Regions from separate parts of the Homo sapiens genome. Here regions 2, 3 and 4 are each linked to region 1. The links are contacts of gene promoters, found by promoter capture Hi-C in blood cells and fetal thymus (Javierre and others, 2016). All regions are on one chromosome and are shown on one strand. The core of a region is centred on a gene start or on the middle of the fragment in contact, and the rest is flanking DNA. Distances in the headings are between cores, read along the strand shown.

Region 1 (2,700 bases), core at 138-2,637:
AACCAGACAGGAAGACAGAGATGTTCTGGAGAAGGGATTGGGATACGTGAGTCAACTGAAGTTGACTACTTCCAGTTGACAAGTTTACAAAAAAAAAAAAAGTCCAACGAAAGGTCTCTCGGGCCACATGGTTGGCAAGATCCAAGCTTGCCCAGAAGGCTTCAGAAAATGAAACCAAATCTGATTAAAATGGACATTTCAAAACAACAAGACACGCAGCAGCAAACGCACAGCTGCCATTTCCCGGCCACTTCCTGCGGGAGGCTGGGGGAGGGGCTGTTTGTGTACAGATAGAGGTGGAAAGCTATCCCCTCCGTCGTCCCCCAAAGCAGACAAATCTCTCACTCCAATTAACCCTACAAAGGACAACTGCTATTGACATTGCCTTCTCCTGAAAACTGGGAACACCGGGAAAGAAAGGGATGATGCGGTATCATCTTTCTGCCACGGAAGCGGGGATCCCCTCAGTGAGGAATCTCCTTGGAAAAAGGAATTCCTCTTTATTCTTCCCTTCTGCCCCTCAGCCCAGCTCAAATTGGAAAGCCTCAGCGGAAGCCCTATCAACCTCCATCCCCGGAGTGCGCGATTCTCCCGGGACGCGAGGGCCCCAAGCCAAGCGCAGCACCACCCTCAGCAAGGAAGGCCCTCTCCTGATCTTCACGCTCAAGAGAATGGGTGCGCTCCCCGAGGGAGACACCCTCAGACCCCTGGAAACCCCTTCCGCCCTCCACTCACCACAGTCAAAACGCCCAGCTCCCCGCAAACGGAGCGTTTTAACCCGCCAAGGGAACCCCCTCACCCACCCCTCGCGCTCAGGCAATCCCCACCCCCACCCGAGGAGGTGGAGCCCCTCCCGGGGATTCCACCCCAAGTCCCCCACAGGAGTCATCTCCACCAGCCAGGCGGCTTCTCCGCCTCCTCACTGTCGCCGGGAGCCCCTACAGCTCCTCCTGCCCCCGCGGCCCCGTCCGGGGTCCTCAGCAGCCCCACCAGCCCTGTTCTCCTCCCAGACCCCAGAGCAAGGAGACCCTCGCCTCGGGTTGGATCCTCGCAGGAAATAAGCTCCCGTCGGCTTCCCGCCCCGGCAAGGCTCAAGCCGGCTCTGGAGCTTCTGTTCCCCGAGGGAAGCCTCGGATGAAAGCGGGGCTCCCTCCCCCTCAGGCCCCTGGCCACAGACCCCACAAACCTGAGGCAGCGGCGTCCAGCCGGGCTCGGGGCTCGTCTCTCCCCGGGGTACAAGCGGTTCACATGGCCGCGCTCCGGGCGCCAGAACGGGTGGAGACGCCCGCTGGGGAGGGGGTCTGGGGTCCGGGGTTCGGGAAGGGGGAGGGGGACGCGGCTCAACCGCGGGGCCCGAGAGGAGCCAACATGGCCGGCGGGGGAGGAGTGAGTCGGAGCCGGAGGGGGCGGAGAAGCCTCGGCCGGGAGAGAGTCTCCCCACGCGGCCTCCGCCACAGGGTCCTAAAGCCCGCCAGCCCATCTTTCCGACCCGGACCTGGGTCCTAGCGCCGCTGTGCCTCCTGCAACTCTGGCCACCTTGCCCACCTGGCAGCTCCCTCTGCACCCGCATCTCATGGAGGCAGTGGTCCTGCTTCACACAGGGCAAACTGAAAGGCATGCCACAGTCCCAAGGTTAACTTAAAAGACTAGACCAAACGTCTAGGCCCAAAGGCAGGTGCCACTTCTCTAACAGGCTGGTAGGGGTAAGAGTCAGGGGAATTTCGGGGGCAGTTATTTCCCAGGTAGGGTAATGGAAACGTGGAAATAGAAAGGTTAGTCACTCAGGTCGCGATTCAGTAAAGGGATGGGGAGAGGCAAGAGTCAGCCACCCACTCACCTCTGTCCCTTCAGTGCAGCCTGGTCCTGCCTGGATCACCACTTTCCTGGCGACATCTGCAGGGCCCTGGTCACCGGAAAGGAAAGATTCCTGTGCGTGGGGGAAAGAAGGTTCGGCTCTGGAACCAGACAGCAAAGACCTGAGTGTAGCCTAAATGCAGTCAGAGAAGTAAAGGATAAGCTGAAAACTAATCAGCAAAAAGATGCCACAAATGTCCACCCATTCTATGGTTCTGGGAATTTTTTTCTGACAGGGCTACATAACTGTGTGAAAACTCAGAAAAGTAAAATCTAGCAGAGGACTAGAGTTTGGCTGTCACCTAAAATGTCCACTGCAGGGCACCAGGATGAAGAACAGTGTCATATGATGTTAGAGCTTAGAGAATTTCTAGTTCAGGCCGGACGCGGTGGCTCACGGCTGTAATCCCAGCACTTTGGGAGGCCGAGGCAGGTGGATCATGATGTCAGGAGTTCAAGACCAGCCTGACCAACATGATGAAACCCGGTCTCTACTAAAAATACAAAAATTAGCTGGGTGTGGTGGCGTGCCCCTGTAATCTCAGCTACTCAGGAGGCCGAGGCAAGAGAATCGCTTGAACCTGGGAGGTGGAGGTTGCAGTGAACTGAGATCGCGCCATTGCACTCCAGCCTGGGTGACAGAGGGAGACTCTATCTCAAAAAAAAAAAAAAAAAAAAATTCTAGTTCAACCTTCTCTCCTTCATCAAATGAAGAAATTAAGACCCAAAGAGGTTCAATGACTTCTTCAATGTCAAACAGTGGATAAAATATGACAAGAAAGGAAACCAGGTTTCCTTTCCTTGCAACTCAACACTTTGCAGCCTTGAAGATAATTCCCATTTAAT
Region 2 (2,700 bases), core at 194-2,693, 800 kb after region 1:
CTACTTGGGGGACTGAGGTAGGAGGACGGCTTGAGGCCAGGAGGCAGAGGTTGCATTGAGCCGAAAAGGAACCACTACACTCCATTCTGGGTGACAGACTGAGACCCTGTCTCAAAAAACAAAATACAACCTTTTGTCTTGATACCCCAGCAACAAAAAGGGGGGCGGGGGTGGGGGGGGAATATTGGTGGAACAACAACAAAAAAAAGCATTAGGAAGAAGAGCCACAAATAATTCAACTGCAAATCTATCTAAAAATACAAGAAAATGCTAGGAATTTGTGATATTCCTGAAGTGAAACCTGTCACTTTCCTCCTTCCTTGAGTCTCCACGTGGCTTACGCATATCAGACAGGACTCAGGCTTCTCAATCTTAGTTATCTATTTGAACAACATTATGTACAAGGATATTCATCCAACTGGGATCTGAATTCAAACTTTTCCACTTTTCTTTCTTCCGTTTTAACGCAGTTCTGGGATTGTTATTCGGTCATTTCTCATCATTATCCAATGACAATTCACTCTAAGTCAGTATTCCTGGTAGTTCCGAGACTTAATGGCCACAAATGTTGAAAAATGTTAGCTCTACGGGAAAACGAATCGAAGCGTTTTCAGGGGCTCGAGTAGTTATGAGCTTAGTGTAGGCCCAAGTTTTAAGCTATAGAAACATCTCCCTGTATGTGCCAACTCAAATCCCCGTCCCTGTAAGAAACCTGGACACCAGCATGATTTTAAACACTTCTACACCTCTCCGTCCTATTTTTCCATGCTCCACGCTCGAAGGAAAACCGCCACCCAAGAAACACACGGAGCTAGCCACCCCGAAGCACTGGAAGGGCGCAATAGTTTTTAGGTCACCCCGCAAAGGCCACAGGTGGCGCCACCCCCCTGCCCCCGCACCGCCGCCCTCCGCCCCGCGCCCCCAGCTTCTCTCCAGCAGCGCACACTTGGAGCAGTCCTTCCCGCGGCCATCCGACCCTGACCCATCGTCCCCGGGACCGGCTGCCGGGCGCGAGGAACCCAGGCCGCGGGGCCTCCTCGCGCCCGCCCGTGCGGCCGCCACGCCCCCTCCCCACAGGCCGTCCGGGCCGCCCGCCCCCTCGGCCGGGAGGTGGCCTCACCTCGCACGGGCCTTGGCGGGGAGGGCGCCCACGTCTCCGCCCGCCGCCCGGGCCCACGGCCGCTCGGCTGCGGCTCGGCCCCGACGGCCGGCGGCGGCGCGCTTCTGGGGGCGGGCTTTTCTCGGCCGGGGCTTCCCCGGGGCCGAGGGCTGGGAAGCAGGGGGGACTGGGACGGGGGAGGGGAAAGGGGCTTGGGAAGGAGGGGGGAGAGGGGAAGAAAAGGGGGGAACCAAACCCGGAAAGGGAGAAAAGGGGGGAGGGGAAAATCAGAAGGGGAAGAAAAGCCCAGAGTCCGCCCCCCGCTGCGGCTGCGCGCTACGTCACTACGTCCGGCGTTGTCGTCACCTCGTCCTGCGTTCCGGCCGTCCCTGCTTCCTGGCTTCCCGCGTGCCCCTCAGCAGCCCTGCGGGGCCTACCGCCTGCCGCACGCACTCCCGCCGGCGCGCGCGCACTCGCACTCGCTCGCTCGCCCTCTCCTCCTTCCGCGTTACCTGTGTCAGGACACCAATCCGGAGTCACTGGGAGCCTCGGTCCTCCTTAAACCCTTCAAGTCTGTCAGATAGAATACCCTGGATTTCAATATAATACTAATAGTGATCATTCTAAAGTAATTTCCATTTACAGAGCACTTTCACTTAGGGCAGTAACTCCTGTACCAAAAGAACGTACACTCGGTATTTGTTGCATACGTGGATAACTATAGTTGAGCAGGTAAATGTCCATTTTACGTAAAGATGAAAAAAACCGACCTAGGAGGAACTCAGTCTGTCCTATTAAGATCACATTCTTACCATCATCCCCTCTCTAAGATACAGTTCTCAAAAATCGTCTTAAATGTCCAGCCTCCCCCGTTTTGTCCATTCTAGGCAGAATCAATTTAGTTATTGATTATGTGTGTGTGGATAATTTACTGACCAAACTCCCTCAAAGAAGCAATGTAGTCTTTTGTAGAATTCGACCATTAAATATTTACCTTGTGACAGAAACTGCGGTAGGCAAAAAAAGTCAAATAATTATAGTACAATTTAAGTGCTATAATAGAAAGGTTTAAATGTGCTATGGAAACACAAGGAACAGCAATTCGTTCTTAGCGGTAAAAGAGATTGAGTAAGTTACAGAGAAACTACAGGTGAAACTCCAGCTAATCTTGAGACTATAAATAGTTCACTAGAGAGGTAAGAATGGAGATTCCAGCAAAGTCATAGAGGCATGAAGTTCATCTTTCCTTCAAGGATGAGCAAGTTCCAGGTTGGTTGGCGTTTTTTGTTTGTTTGTTTGTTTGTTTTATTTATTTTGAGATGGGGTCTCGCTTTGTCACCCAGGCAACTAGATTGCAGTGGTGCAATGTCGGTTCACTACAACCTTCACCTCTCAGGTTCAAGTGATTCTCCTGCCTCAGCGTCCGGAGTAGCTGGGACTACAGGCACGCACCATCACACCCGGCTATTTTTTGTATTTTTAGTAGAGACGGGGTTTTGCCATGTTGGCCAGGCTAATCTCGAACTCCTGGCCTCAGGTGATCCACCCGCCTCGGCCTTCCAAAGTTCTGGGATTACAGGTGTGAGCCACCTTGCCCAGCC
Region 3 (2,700 bases), core at 157-2,656, 820 kb before region 1:
TTTTTTTTTTTTTTTGAGACGGAGTTTCACTTTTGTTGCCCAGGCTGGAGTGCAATGGTGCCATATCGGCTCACCGCAACCTCCACCTACGCGGTTCAAGTGATTCTCCTGCCTCAGCCCCCCGAGTAGCTGGGATTACAGGCATGTGCCATCACGCCCAGCTAATTTTGTATTTTTAATAGTGACGGGGTTTCTCCATGTTGGTCAGGCTGGTCTCGAACTCTCGACCTCAGGTGATCCGCCTGCCTCGGCCTCCCAAAGTACTGGGATTACAAGCGTGAGCCACTGCACCCAGCCTGCTTGGATTTAATATACAACATTTTAGCTGTGCAACCTAAGGCAAGTTACTCAGTTACTCTCTCTGAGCTATGGTTTTTCTTATTTTCAAATGAGGATAATACAGGTATTTACCTTACAGGGTTATTATGAGAATTAAATCAGTTAGTGTATGTAAATGGCTTCAAACAGTGCTTTGCCACATAACAAATGCTAAGTGTTGGCAATTGATGAAGCATTCTGAAGAAATTAAATAAAATAAGGCCACAGTAGTTGAAGAGTTAGTAACTATGCTGGAGAGACGGGCAGGGATATAATTTAAAGGTTTTAAGCAGGGGAATGACTCCTATAATAAATATCTAAGTGGTGAAATCGCTCCCCCTACAAATCCCATCCGCCAAGAGAATACAAGCTGATCACATCAAGCTCCTCCTTTCAAACTTCCAAAGGCTCCCAGCCCTACTTCTTACATGACAAAGGCCAGAAGTCCTTACATAACTTAGAAAGCCCTTTTCAATATCACTCTGATTTACCTTTATAGTTTACCTATTTTCCTTTCCAAACTATCTTCAACTACCAATATATTTCCTCACTTCACTTTTCAATACAAATGTCTCACTATTCTCAACACTCTGACACTACTATCACTTTCTCCTCTCCTCTGCAATAGTTCCTTTTCTAATGTTTGACTGGATATCTGATACTGTTACAGTTCAAGCCATTTTCATCCACAGTTCAATCTCTCTTTCCAAATGTGTTAGTATGGGCCAGGAGTGGTGGCTCATGCCTATAATCCCAGCACTTTGGGAGGCCAAGGCAAGAGGATCACCTGAGGTCAGTCAAGTCCAGCCGGACCAATAACATGGTGAAACCCCATCTCTACTAAAAATACAAAAATTAGCCAGGCATGGTGGCACGTGCCTGTAATCCCAGCTACTCGGGAAGCTGAGGCACGGGAATTGCTTGAACCTGGAAGGCGGAGGTTGCAGCGAGCCGAGATCTTGCCACTGCACTCCAACCTGGGCGACAGAGCGAGACTCCATCTCAATTTAAAAAAAAAAAAAAAAGAATGACTGCATTTCTACAAAATCCTCAGAAATTTGCTGTTGATATGACATTACATATCAACTCAGATACATACTATGTTTCCTTCCTGCTTCAAAAGGTATTCCCTTCCCCTGAGGTTCCATACCAAAGCCCAAAATTCTCTTTATGACAATGGAGAGATTTTTTTATTTTCTTTTTTTTGAGACAAGGTCTCCCTTTGTCACCCAGGCTGAAGTGCAGTGGAGCAATTATCACACAGCTGACCACAGCCTTGGCCTCCCAGGCTCAAGCAATCCTCCCACTTCAGCCTCCTGAGGAGCTGGGACTACAGGTGTGTGCCACCATGCCCAGCTAATTTTTTAATTTTTTTTGTAGAGACAGGGTCTCACTATGTTACCTAAGCTGGTCTCAAACTCCTGGCCTCCGCCTCCCAAAGAGTTGGGATTACAGGTGTGGGTCACTGCACCCAGCCAAGATTTTTTTTTAAGGCAATAAAACCCCAAGTCAACCCAGAAGTCAGGATCATTGCATCAAGATCACCAGTGGAACCAAACATTAATTGTCCTAAAAATCAGAATCAAAGGCATGAGTTCTTTTTTTCTTTTTGAGACGGAGTCTCACTGTCCCCCAGGCTGGAGTGCAGTACACCATCTCGGCTCACTGCAACCTCCAACCCGGGCTCAAGCGATTCTTGTGCCTCAGCCTCCTCACAGCCTCCTCAATAGCTGGGACTACAGGCACTTGCCACCACACCTGGCTAATTTTTGCATTTTTGGTAGAGGCGGGGTTTCGCCATGTTGCCCAGGCTGGTCTCGAACTCCTGGCCTCAAGCAATCCGCCCGCCTAGGCCTCCCAAAGTGCTAGGATTACAGACGTGAGCCACCACGCCCAGCTAAAGGCATGAGTTCTTAACCAGAGGTCCATGGACTCCTCGGGGCTACAAGGTAGTTTTATGAAGCCCCTCAAACTGCATGCAAAATATGTGTACATGCCTTTTTCTGGGGAGAGGGTCCATACCTTTCATCAGAGTTTCAAAGATATCTGTGACCTCCAAAAGGTTAAGAAGTGCTCTAGAGAAAAAGCAAAGACAAGCAAATGTGATTAAAGAGCAAGTCCTTTTTAGGCTGTCAGGAGTGCCTAATGTTCTCTTAGACTGTAACACTGAAATCAGGTCAGAGGACTTTACGTAAAAGTTACTTATCCAATCAAATACAAATTTTATATAGACCTGACAAATACAGATTTGATGGAAGGAGGAACTCCATAAACCAACACAATCTATAAATGCAAGTAAGTCATCGGGCAGCTGGTGACTTACTCCAGGGATTTCAAAAATAGGACAAATAGGAAGAAAATATTAGCTCTTCTATATATAGT
Region 4 (2,700 bases), core at 60-2,559, 520 kb after region 1:
CTAAGGGAGATTAACTTGATCTGTAACTGTTTAGTAAACCAGAATTCCCATCTCTGCCTTGGTTTCCTAATCTGCATAATGGGTTTGAGCTTGTCTGTCTAGATCAGATTAACTGGAGTGAAAGCCAGTGGTAAAGGACAGCACACTTTGAAGTTGAGGATTGTGAACCTTGGGCCTCTCTAGAAGATCTTCAAGTTTCTTTATTTGGTTCTTGTGATGAAAAGAAAGATCCCAGGAGGTTACAAGGGATTCATTCTGGGAGAGAGAAAGGCCCCTCCCCGGGATGGTGGCGAGCAGGGGTTCCTCTGAGAGCCCTCACTCTCCGTGGCCTCAGCGTAAGGTTCACATTTCTGCCTTTGGCTCCTCCAGAGCATCCCTGATAGCGTCCTTGGGCTGCTGCTGTCCACAGCTCACCTGTGATCAGACATGTGTCCTCCTTGGGGTGCTGAGCTGGGGGCTGTCAAGCCTGGTTGGCTGAGCTCTTAACGAGTGGGCGACTCAGGGAACCCCATGGCTGATGGGGTGGGATTGGTGCTAGACCCTCTTGTGCAGCTGCCCTCCCCCTGTTCCTTGTCCACTGACCTACTCAACAGGCCTGTCTGGGCAGACAGCTTGTCAGTTTCCTCCCCAGCCCTGCATCTTGCCATACAGTGGGCTTCTGGGTAGGTGGCTATGGGGTGTCCTGGAGGTAACCTTCTCAACTTCTACTCTGGCCTCATCTCCTTATCTGACTTCCTCCCCAGGAGAAGCTGGTACCCCTCCCTTGGCAAACAGATTTGCCTTGCCTCCCAGTCTGCTAAACTCACTGGGCCTCTCAGGGGCAGAGTCCAGGAGGCTAGAAGAGTCCAAGGGGAAATGCTTGTGGGGTAAATGAGTGGGTTTCTCTCATCCCAGCTTCTGTCCCTTCCTCCCTGCCCTCCCCCTGCTCCACGTCCCTGCCGCCTGAATGTCTGGCTGTCACCCTGAGGATGGTTGTTTTGCTCTCTCCCACAAACTAATTATGGGTCCCAAACTGAGGACGTCAGTGTCTCTCCCCTAGCCCCTCCCCCAGTTTCTGGGTCATCCCCCTCCCCAGGAGATGCTGACTGGCCTGCCCTGGTGTGTAGGGTGGCTGGTCCCAGGCACTCACCTGCACAGTGGCTGCTGGCCTGTAATTAGCTCCCCAAGGAGGACGAAGAAGAAAGGCTGCAGCTTTCCCCTGCTTTCACTCTGCCCTCCAGGGCAGCCCTCCCTGCAAGCCTTCCATTCTGTGCTGTGACTGTGACCTCTGTTGGACCCCTGGGGCTGAGCCTCATGCAGCAGGGGTGCACACAGAGGGAGGAGTCTGACAATTGAGGGGTGTTCGAGCCAGCGAGGCCAGCCCGCTGGTGCAGGCAGAAGGGGGAGCCTGCCCCAGAGAAAACTCTGGAAGCAGAAATAGAATAGAAAGAAGGAAGGAGGCCAGGAAATGAGCCTGGTTCACATGTGTCCTGGGCCATGTGAGTCAGACCTGTTGTGGAGTCCTGAGAGCCCCCGAGGGCCCCCCTGAGGCCCTGCAGTGTGTGAACATTCCTCTTCAATGCCCCAGGGCTGCTGACCCTCCTGCCTCAGGCCCAGTGTTATCCCCCTGGATTGGGTGGGTCATCTCTTTTCCTCCCACCTGAGATTACCTCCCCCTCCCCTCTGCCGCTGGCCCAGTGGTTTGGGGAGGTCTATGAGGCTCGAATTCCAAGACCAGAGAACTCCATGGTGAGAGCCGGAAGAGAAGGCAAGACCCTTGGCCAGTACCAAGAGCAGCCCTGGCTTTCACTACTGCTTTCTCAAAGGGGCTATGCATTGATTTGATTTTAGATGGTACCTGGACAAGCTTTTTTTTTTTTTTTTTAACTGTTATAGTTACGTTTTTATTTGATATGCATTAGGAAACTCCTGTAACTAGCACATCAAATCTGTTACTTCAGCAATTGTTTAGCATGCAGCGAAATAAGAAAAGTAAGTTAATTGAAATAACTGGTAATAAACAGTAGCGCAAGCTGTACATAAGCATGGTAGACATTTTGAAAGTGATACACAAAAGACTAAAGTTCTGAAAATTGAGGCCCAGAGGGATCAACAGGCCTGATAGTCCCTTAGTCAGGAACCAGGCCTGCGCACTCTCACCCCCACCTCTGACCAGTCTCTCAGCTCCAGAGGCCTATGGAGCCTGTAACCCAGCTTTGTCCAGCCTCCTGCCAGGCTGCCCCTGGGCAGGCCTGGTGGTGCAGTCTACCGACCCCAGCCCAGCCCTGCATTTCCTAAGCTGAGCTCCTCTGATCTGTATTCCCTTCACCTTGGAGGATGCCACCACTGTAGAAAGAATGAGGCAGACTGCAAGATTGGGGTCCTGGGAACATGGGTGTGTATGGTGAGGGGAGGTTCTGAGGTTGTAAATAGAGGCCTTGAAGGAAATCGGGTTTGCTGAAGTCACTCAGGAGTTTGGACTGTGTGTGAAAGGATGGTCTGAAGGGGCTCTCAGAGGTCTCAGGGTTCCCCTCCCTGCACCATGCTGCATGGGGAAGAAGGAGGTGGCTGGGGAGCTCAGCAAAGGGCCCCTAGGCTGCAGGCAGCAAGGTTGCGAAATGGGTCCCAGGTCCAGCTGGCCAACTTCACTTTTCCCTTCCTCTCCCTTTCTTTTATTTATTTATTTTTTTAGTGTGTGTGTTTTCGAAATCACAACAGGAA

What was found. Contacts are between HindIII fragments. The CHiCAGO score rates a contact against its expected background, and 5 or more counts as called.
Region 2: a contact is called between the fragment with the promoter of R3HDM2 here and the fragment with the promoter of BAZ2A in region 1, in 12 of 17 cell types (total CD4 T cells, activated CD4 T cells, non-activated CD4 T cells and 9 more). The highest score is 11.2, in total CD4 T cells.
Region 3: a contact is called between a fragment that was not itself captured here and the fragment with the promoter of BAZ2A in region 1, in 1 of 17 cell types (total CD8 T cells). The highest score is 5.3, in total CD8 T cells.
Region 4: the fragment with the promoter of LRP1-AS here is called in contact with the fragment with the promoter of BAZ2A in region 1 in 2 of 17 cell types (M1 macrophages and M0 macrophages); the score reaches 6.6 in M1 macrophages.

What each region holds. Positions count from the first base shown.
Region 1 is chr12:56,628,939-56,631,638 of GRCh38, forward strand. BAZ2A (bromodomain adjacent to zinc finger domain 2A) reads right to left here and starts at 1,388. Exons shown (of 29, transcript NM_001300905.2): 1 at 1,187-1,388. RefSeq lists a silencer at 975-1,324 and enhancers at 1,545-1,594, 1,625-1,694. The HindIII fragment of the contact is 7,835 bases long and covers 145-2,700 here.
Region 2 is chr12:57,429,600-57,432,299 of GRCh38, forward strand. It overlaps R3HDM2 (R3H domain containing 2), which reads right to left and starts at 1,444. Exons shown (of 24, transcript NM_001394031.1): 1 at 1,121-1,444. R3HDM2-DT (R3HDM2 divergent transcript) reads left to right here and starts at 1,517. Exons shown (of 2, transcript NR_185976.1): 1 at 1,517-1,831. RefSeq lists an enhancer at 586-695 and a silencer at 876-1,345. The HindIII fragment of the contact is 10,065 bases long and covers 1-2,700 here.
Region 3 is chr12:55,813,547-55,816,246 of GRCh38, forward strand. All of the region lies in intron 1 of SARNP (SAP domain containing ribonucleoprotein), which reads right to left. Among named protein-coding and RNA genes, the nearest start is that of SARNP, 2.8 kb to the right of the region's middle. The HindIII fragment of the contact is 3,247 bases long and covers 1-2,700 here.
Region 4 is chr12:57,146,310-57,149,009 of GRCh38, forward strand. It overlaps LRP1-AS (LRP1 antisense RNA), which reads right to left and starts at 1,310. Exons shown (of 2, transcript NR_131938.2): 1 at 1,130-1,310. The region is part of intron 6 of LRP1 (LDL receptor related protein 1); the gene reads left to right. RefSeq lists an enhancer at 1-852. The HindIII fragment of the contact is 5,560 bases long and covers 1-1,844 here.